Linked DNA regions of Homo sapiens: region 2 is linked to region 1. The links are contacts of gene promoters, found by promoter capture Hi-C in human tissues and cell types (Jung and others, 2019). All regions are on one chromosome and are shown on one strand. Each heading gives the region's core, a stretch centred on a gene start or on the middle of the fragment in contact. The rest is flanking DNA. Distances are from core to core; before and after follow the strand shown.

Region 1 (4,422 bases), core at 1,691-4,190:
TTGCTCCAGTGGAATTAACATGAATATACATGGGGATGGGGGGGCAGCACTTGAATTTTAGAAACAAAAATGAAGATGAGTAGAAATGCAATTTTTTAGGTAGAAAGATATTTCTGTCCACTGGCCTCTATTTTCTCAGAAAAGGTGTGAGCGGGTTGAGGTTTGGATGAAGAAGGCTTGAGGAGGATGGAAAATGTTTAGAATCAAAAGTCAATTAGAAAGGGCTAAAAGGATTTCCAAGTAGAAGTGACTGTGGCATTAAGCTAAAATGGCATAGTTTATAGTGGACTGCTTCCAGAGCAGAGGACACGGGGTTTAGTCCATTGCCACTGAGTTGGGTCAAGCCCTTAGACAGCTGTCTTCTGACCTGACTTTCAAACTGAAACCTACCCTTCTGTGATTTATCCAGGCTTCTGTGATTTACCTACCCTCTGCTTGCAAGACAATCCAAGGTCCTCAGCATGACACACAGGCCTTTCCCTAACTGGCCCCCATTTGTGTCTCCAGCATCAGTTTTTGCCTTCTGCCATATTGAACTTAACTGTAGTTCCTCTAGAGCCTCAGTCCCTTTCAGTGCTGCTGGGCCTTAACCAAAGTATTCTCCTGAAATATTTTTCCCTTTAATGTCTGGAAAATAACATGTATTTTTTTTTTAAAGGCTGCCTCCTCTGAGAAGCCTTCCAGGGTCACCTTAGGTAAAACTGATTGTCAGTCTCTCTTTTTGCCAGCCTTACCTATGCCCTGTATGTGCTACTGACATCACAAGTCACTTCATATTTCATCTATTTTAAAATGCACTTTTATTCACATTTTTTAAAAATCCCTGAAATCAGCCAGATGTGGTGGTACAGGTTTGTAGTTGCAGCTACTGAGGAGGCTGAGGCAGGAGGATCACTTGAGCCCAGGGCTCGAGGCTGTAGTGTTATGATCGCACCTGTGAATGGCTACCACACTGCAGCCTTGGCAACACAGGCAGACCTTGTCTCAAAAAAAAAAAAAAAAAAATCCCTTAAATTAGCATGTAACTTATAATCAATGGTGTATCATAGTTCAATGACAGGATTAAAAAAAATTTTGGTGATACCAAAAAAAAGTACATCTTACATTGGAGAGCATTTGGTGAAATGCAGCTTCATTTTCTAACTTTCTAAAGTGAGTGTAGGAGTGCTTCTCATCTTGCCTCCCACCCCACCGCCCCCGCCACCTTTGGCAGTGTCTGGAGACATTTTTGGCTGTATCAACTTGCGGCGAGGAATATGCTGCTGGCATCTAACAGGTAGAGGCGAGAGATGCTGCTAAACATCCTCTAATACACAGGACAACCCCCGACAACAAAGAATTAGCCAGGTCAAAATGTGAATAGTACAGAGATTGAGAAACCCCTACGTAGAGAAACAATACCTATTTGGGTATATAATAGGCTTTATTATGTTTGATTTTAAATAAATCTTTTACAGTGTATAGTGCAACTTAATGTATAGCAACTTTTTCCAAACCTTGGCTTGTACAGAATAGCAACTCTTGAGACATATTCTAAGCTCTCCTCATCACCCCTCCCCAACTCCTTCTGCTAGATGCCCCAGGGAAATAAAATACAGCAATGCTCCTGGTCAAAATCTGAAAGCCAGAATGTCTCAGAGAGATTCGTGACCTTAAACCAATTAGGTTAGTTAATGGCAAGTCCAGGACTGAAACCCAGACCCCCAGATTTCCGCAATCTCACTCAGCCTGGGAGACAGCTGCTCCCTTCCCGGGCTAAATTGGCTAACACAGTTTGGTACCTTAAGAGGAAATGTGCCCTACCTATATGAGCTGGGTGACTTAGCAAGAGTTTAGCATTTAGTATTCACGCTTTAACACCCGGGACCCACCCAGCTCTCACCCCACTTTATGAGAATGTAGGTTGACTCTGTAAGACCCCTTAGCTCTGTGGGGAATTGGATTTATGCAAAAAATAATAGTGATTCATGAATGTGAAGGAACTTTAAATAAATGTAGATGATTTCATCATACAAAAGGCAGAAGGGACTTAGTAAGTGTATTTAAGGCTCTGGAGGAAGCGTTATTAATTTGGAAAGTGGGTGGGGGGAGCTGTCCTCTATCCCTACAAGCTGCACGTGTGGAAAGGGCCTTTCTAGCGCAGGAAGCTGATTTATGTGAGAGAGGAAGGAGTTCCAGGGGGAGGTTTTGGCAAGGCAGTCCCCACATCTCGGTTGTGCCAGCCAGGCGGGCCTCAGGTGGGTCTGGGGCTCCCTGCCCCTCCTGCTGAGTCCCCAGAGTGTCCCCCGCCCCCTTCCTTCTCCCACTGGGGCTGAATCACAGTGGGCAGCAGTGTTTGGGATCCTGCGATCCACCCATCGCCATCCCAGCAGCCCCACCCTTGGAGGATGGGAGGTTACCCTGCACGCCAGAGGGGATGGCGGGGGCCAGACTCACCTTCAGGTGAATGGGAAAGGACCGCTCCTGCTGGAGGGGCCCCAGCAGCGTCTGCTCCACGCTGACCAGCTCCGAAGTCGAGTCCACCACGCGGGCCAGCGCGCTGCGCATCGCCATCTGGGCCAGGGTGCAGGGCCCGCGGTCCCGGGGGAAGGGCAGCAACTCGGCGCCCCCCTCAGCGCCTCGCACTACCTCCTCCTCTGGGGAGTTCGCCCGCGCCGCGGTCCGCCGACTCCTGGTCCCCACGCCCCCGCCCCGCTCCTCGCGCCCGGGCCCCGGCCGGGCCCGCGGCGGGCCTGAGCGACGGGCTGGAGCGGTGGACACGTGGTCTGGGTCCCGCGGGTTCCCGGGGGCGACTGGACCGTCCCCCCAGCCCCACTCCTGCTGCAGCAGCTGCAAGGTCTGCAGAGCCACCATTTGGTGGCTGATGGAGGCCACTAAGGGCGCAGGGCTGGCCATCGCCTCCGCTGGCGGCCCGGCGCGCTCCGCGTGCAGGTGGAGCAGCAGCGAGGGAGGCGGGGGCGTTGGGGTCGCCAAGGTCACATTTTCTAACCCGCGGCTCCTCGGCCTCTGGGTCTCACAGCGTGTGTGGTCGGCCCCGCCCCCGGCTCTGAATCGGTGACCCGTGCTGGCCTCTGCCTTCGCCTGAAGTCCGAATCAGGCGTGTTCTGACCCAAAGCTGCCTGAAGCGCTGCTCGGTGTGCACTTGAAAATCAGCGAAATGCTGAGCGTTGCTTCTTCCCTCTCTCCAGGGCTTTGATGAGAAAACGTGCTGCTTTGTGCGGGCGCATCCATCGGCGGGGATACCCCGCCCCCACCTCCTTCGAAGGATGCCTGCCAATGACCACTGAGGTCTGGGAGGTGGGGGTGCAAAAGACCCACTCTAGGGCAAAAGTACGAAGGGCTCTAGAAAAACTTGCAAAAGGAAGACTGTGCCTTTCCCAACCCGAGGGGAATTTTCAGAAACTTGTTGAAGCAGCCTTCAAGGCCTTGCATCCCCCAAACAAAAGAAGGAGGAGTTGTGTATCTGGAAGTTCTGCTCTTCTCTGCTTTGCTGGGTGCCACTTGAGCACCGAGAGCCTGGTGGCTGAACTAGCATCAGCAAGCCTCAAGGCCCAGGCCTGGCACTGCCCAGAAAAGCCTAAATGTTTTTTTGTGACACTCCCAAAAGACTTAGGCAGCAAGGTTGAAGTTAATCCTTTTATGAGCCATGAACTTAGGGACAGCTGTACAAATAGTTGCTGTTTTTAATTAAACCCAACATGGCTACTTCCTTAACTTAGAAAAAAGCGACTAGCAATGTTATGCTTTGATAGATTGGAAACCATGGGTGTGTGATCACACTTAAGAAAATAGAAGATATTTGAGAGGAGTGGTATGGAAAACCAGTCCGGAGCAGCATTGTTCCTGCTTGCTTTCTGCAAGGAAAACCACTAGACAACCCAACAGCCCAGTAAAGCCAGGGCAATGGTGCATGCCCACGACAGACAGGTGGGCCCTGGCAGACCTGAGGATGGAATTGCATTACTCCTTTGGGAGCCAGACTGCACCCTTGGTGCTGTGCAGATCTGGAGAGGCTTTTGAGTGAAAAGGCCACACTGGTTAGTCTGTGAGCACAAAAGGATCATCAGAAGAGATATGGAGAGGGATGTTGGGTCCTTTAAGGTTTCCTTAACCCTGGGATAGTATGACCCCATATAATCCTCCCAACTTGCCAGCAAAGGTTCCTTCTCCTTCCCAGTGCTTTCTTCGCCTATGAAAACGAATCTGAATGCCAAGGTAAAGAAAACCTTTCTTAAACAAAAACGAGTATGTTCACACTAATTATAACTAAGTAAAAATGCACGTCTGTGCATTGACAGAGAGGAAATTACTTTGGAGGGAAGTAAATAGTTTAATGTTGATTAGATTTTTTTGCCATGAAGTTACTTAAGTTCATAATAAAAAATAGAAAGAAAAAAATTTTCTTTTTAAAAAAAGTCTTCA
Region 2 (4,621 bases), core at 1,154-3,653, 39 kb before region 1:
TAACTCTCCCTCTTATCTCTGTCACTGAGACAACCAGTTCTCCTCACAGGAGGCGACCTGAATTACTAATTATATATGGATATTTCCAGATATGTTTTATATGTCTGTACATGTGTATATCATACATGTACATGTACTTTTTTACACAGTTGGGACCACGCTATTTATACTTATCTGTGCCTTGTCTTTTTATCCACATAACAATAGAGCTTAAATAGGCTTCTACATTATTACATAATATATTTTCTTATTAGTTTTTATCACACGGCACTTCATTGTGTAATGTTTCATAATTTATTTAACCTGTTCCCTATTGATAACGTTTAGGCAGTTTCAGATTTTTACATGTATAACCAATAGCCTAACAGGTCATTGGTACATAAATCATTTCACACATTTGCAAATACATCTGTAGGAAACATTCCTCAAATTGGAATTGCTAGGTCAAAGGTATGTGCATTTGTCATTTTGATAGATATTGACAAATTTCCCTCAACTAAGATTGTACGAATTTATACTTTAACCATCAGTGTGTGAAACGACTCACTCTCCCCTTCCTCATGGACTCAGCATGTTATAGAATGTGTTGATCATTGTCAATCTGATGTGAAGTAATATTTTCTGATAATTTAACTTGAAATTCTCTCAACTTTAGTGAATTAATAATGCTTTGCCCTTTTTTATTAGGTTGTTAGACATTTCCTTATTGATATAATTCTCTCTATATTAGAATATTCTACATTAATAAAATTAACCCATTAAAGTGTGTCAAATATGGTAGCCACCAGCCCCATGTGGCTCTTGAACACTTGAAATGTGGCTAGTTCCAATTGTGATGCACAGTAATTATAAAATACACACCAGATTTCTTGGAACAAAAAGGAATAGAAATATCTTATTTATAATATTTTGTATTGATTACTTATTGAAATAAAATTATTTTTGATATGACAAATTAAATAAAACATATTACTAAAATTAATTTCTTTAATTAAAGAAAAAAGGTGATGCATTTCTTTAAAAAACAGACTTCTTTTTACTTTTTACACTAACTACTAGAAAATTTAGAATTACACGTGTAGCTTACATTGTATTTCCATTGACAGTGCTAGTCTACTATGTGAGCTGCAAATTTTTTGCCCAGTTTATTTTTATATTGTCAGATTCATCAGTTTTTTGTTATGACTTCTGAGATTTGTAATGGACTTAAAGAGATCTTCCTTACTACAATACTTTTAAAACTTTTCCATGGTGGGTCCTAGTATTTTTATATTTTTATTAACGTGGAAATCTTTGATTCATCAGGAAATCATTTTGATGTAAGGTCTGAGGTTAGAATCCAATATTAATTTTTTAGAGGGCTAGAATGAACAACATTTATTAATTTCACCCTTTTCCCACTAATTGAAATGTCATCACGTCCTAAATATTTTAATGTCAGGTAGGGCTAGTACCATGTATTTTCTATTTTTTCCCCTGAATTTTCCTGGTTATTCCTGCTTGTTTTTTTCCTTTATATGAACTTTAGAATCATATATAGACTCCCAAATTTTATTGATATTCTTATAGGACCTGTATTAAATGTTTATATTTTTTTAGAGAGAATTGAAAACTGTCTGATACTGAGTTTCCCTCACCAAGAATATAATATACTTTTATATCTGTTCAAGTGTTCTTTTGTGTCCACAAGAGACAGTGTAATGTTGTTCGTTTTATGGGGTTTTTTTTTTTTCTGTTGTTGTTGTTTTTGTTTTTGAGACAGAGTCTCACTCTGTCACCCAGGCTGGAGTGTGGAGTGCAGTGGCATGATCTCAGCTCACTGCAATCTCTGCCTCCTGGGTTCAAGTGATTCTCCTGCCTCAGCCTCCTGAGTAGCTGCAACCACAGGCATGCACCACCACACCCAGCTATTTTTTAAAAATTTTTATTAGAGATGGGATTTCACCATGTTGGTCAGGCTGGTCTCGAACTCCTGACCTCAGGTGATCCGCCAGCCTAGGCCTCTCAAAGTGCTGGGATTGCAGGTAGGAGCCACCACGTCCAGCCAGTTAAAGATTTTACATAGGTTTTCACATCTGACAAATTTATTCTAAATATTTTCTAGTGATATTGCTATCAAAAATGAAGTATTTTCTTCTATTATGCCTTTTTTATTTTAATATAGGAAGGATGATGATTGTATATATTTACTTTATAACCAAAGACCTAACTGAATTCCACTATTGTTCTAATATTTTTTTTCAGTTGGCTCACTTTTTATATAATAAAATTTTTACTTTTATAATCTACAAGCAATTATTATTTGTCTTTTTCTTTTCTAATTTGTATACATTTTCTTTCTCTCTTGTAAAACTGCATTGCTTAGGATGTCTAGATCAACGTCTATGAATAGTTGTGGTAGTAGACATTCTTGTCTTGTTCCTGACATTAATATAAATATTTCTGAGTTTCCTTATAGATTATAGCACTAGCTTTTAGATTGAGATTAGTATATTGCACTAGGTTAAGGAAGTATCTATTGCCATTTATTGACAGTTTTGTTTTGTTGTTTATTTGCTTGTTTAGTAAGAATGGATGTTGGAGTTTATCAAATGTCTCTCAGCATCTAGAAACATGATTTTTAATCTATTAGTGTGGTAGAAATATATTAATAGATTTCCTAATATTGAACCATCCTTGCATTCTAGAATAAATATAATTGCTCATGGTGTGTTAGTTTTTTAATGTGTAATTGGATTTTGTTTAATAATGCTTTATATTCATAATTTTTGTGTAATAATCCTAACAGTTATTGTTTTATTATTTTGATTTTCTTCTTCAAGAACACCAATTATGCATATGTTTGATTTTTTTATATATTTTGCATCTATCATATAACCCTTTTAAATATCTTTTTTATTTATTCTTTTTACTCATTTTTTTCTAATTCCGTCTTCCACATGTCTAGCTATGCTTTCAGCAATGCCCTGTCTTCTTTGTGCAGTTTCCTACCACTTCTCATTCAGCTTTATCGCCTTTCCTTTTTCTAGAAACCTCACCACTTTGAGGCCCAGGGAAGCACTCAGTCAAGCTGACACACCCTTATTGCTAGAGAACAAATATCAGCAAACTATAGCCCATTGGCTAGCTTTCTTTTTTGGGAAGTAAAGTTTTATTGGAATATAGATATGCCCATTTGTTTATTGTACATGGTTGCTTCAGCACTACAGTGGCAGAATTTGATAGTTATGGCAGAGACCATATGGCCCAGAAATTCTAAAATATTTACTATTTGGTTGTATAAGAAGTGGTTTGCTGCCCTCTATTGTAAAAACCTCCATTTACATTTCAGTATGTATCACTTAGAATTGTGCTTTTATGACTTTCTTGAAGCTCAGAATCCACAGGCATCTTCACTCTGGTACTTCCTATGTCCTATGCCACTAAGTCTTCTCTCTCTCTCATTTAAAAATCTCTGTTGTTTCCTAGTTTTACAAAGGATAAGCTTTGCATTACTGTTTTTCTTGATTCCCTTGATGTTTTGGTTGGTTTTTCTGAGATATGAATAAGAAAATACTCACTTAGCTCTGCATGTTAAAATTGGAAGTCCTCAGATAATATTCCAAGAAATTATTTTTTATTTTCATCTTTGGTTGGTTGTTTTTTGACCATTGGATAGAGATCTTAGCATACTAAATGTCTTTATCCTGAATATATAGAGATTTTCTCTCCTTAATTTAATGATTTTATGACTTCTGCAATTCTTTTAGTGATTATTTAGTTCTCAATGAAGAACATAAACACAACTTTTTAAAAAACATGTATTAGTAAGGAAAAATTTGTTTTATATTTTCTATTGCCCTAAATTCTGACTCATATTAGACAGCTCGGAGTAATATTTAATACTTGAAACTTCACAAGTAATTACAAATAAATAAATGCTATAAATATTAAAAAATAGGAGCAATCTCAACTTTATCCTCACATTTTTCTGCTAAGACTTATTTAGTTACATATTGGGCTTATTTTAAAATTTAACCAAAATTATTTGATCTTTAATTATGTTTTTACCTAGAAATGTATATTTAAAAATAAAGTGTAATTCCAGTTGTATTTATACTATTCAGAATTTCAGAAGTCTGTAATCCCAGCTACTCGGGAGGCTGAGGCAGGAGAATTGCTTGAGCCTGGGAAGTGGAGGTTGCAATGAGCAGAGATCGCACCATTGCACTCCAGCCTGGGTGACAGAGCTAGACTCACTGCACTCTAGCCTGGGTGACAGAGCTAGACTCCCTCTCAAAAAAAAAAAAAAAAAAAAAAGTCGGTCTGCTCCTCTGCCTTTTTTTTTCCTACTTTTAAGAGTAGTCTGCCTCCGCAAACTTTAGTAAAGAAGTACTAAAATTAAGTGTGTTAAATGGTGTTAAGATATATATAAAAATTAATTTTTAAAGAGAGTTTAGATTGTTATCTTTAAATTTTTTTATACATTTCATAAAACATAAGTATTTCCTAATCATTAATAGGTTTTAATGAGCTTTAGTAGATGAGCAGAAATATCAGAGATATAAAATGATACTATACCGGCTTCCTTAAGAAGCTTTCTATTATTTCTTAGAATCCTGCTTTATTCTCTTTCTTGAAT

What was found. The method cuts DNA at HindIII sites, captures the fragments that hold promoters and counts their contacts. A contact is called where the count stands out against the background at its distance.
Region 2: a fragment that was not itself captured here is called in contact with the fragment with the promoter of DLEU7 in region 1 in 1 of the 25 tissues and cell types used here (H1 embryonic stem cells).

Annotation. Positions count from the first base shown.
Region 1 is chr13:50,840,752-50,845,173 of GRCh38, forward strand. DLEU7 (deleted in lymphocytic leukemia 7) reads right to left here and starts at 2,941. Exons shown (of 2, transcript NM_001306135.2): 1 at 2,437-2,941. The coding sequence starts at 2,895. The region is part of intron 4 of DLEU7-AS1 (DLEU7 antisense RNA 1); the gene reads left to right. RefSeq lists an enhancer at 1,871-2,797. The HindIII fragment of the contact is 10,732 bases long and covers 1-4,422 here.
Region 2 is chr13:50,802,700-50,807,320 of GRCh38, forward strand. It overlaps a transcript of DLEU7 not described here. Among named protein-coding and RNA genes, the nearest start is that of DLEU7-AS1, 2.8 kb to the right of the region's middle. The HindIII fragment of the contact is 3,253 bases long and covers 778-4,030 here.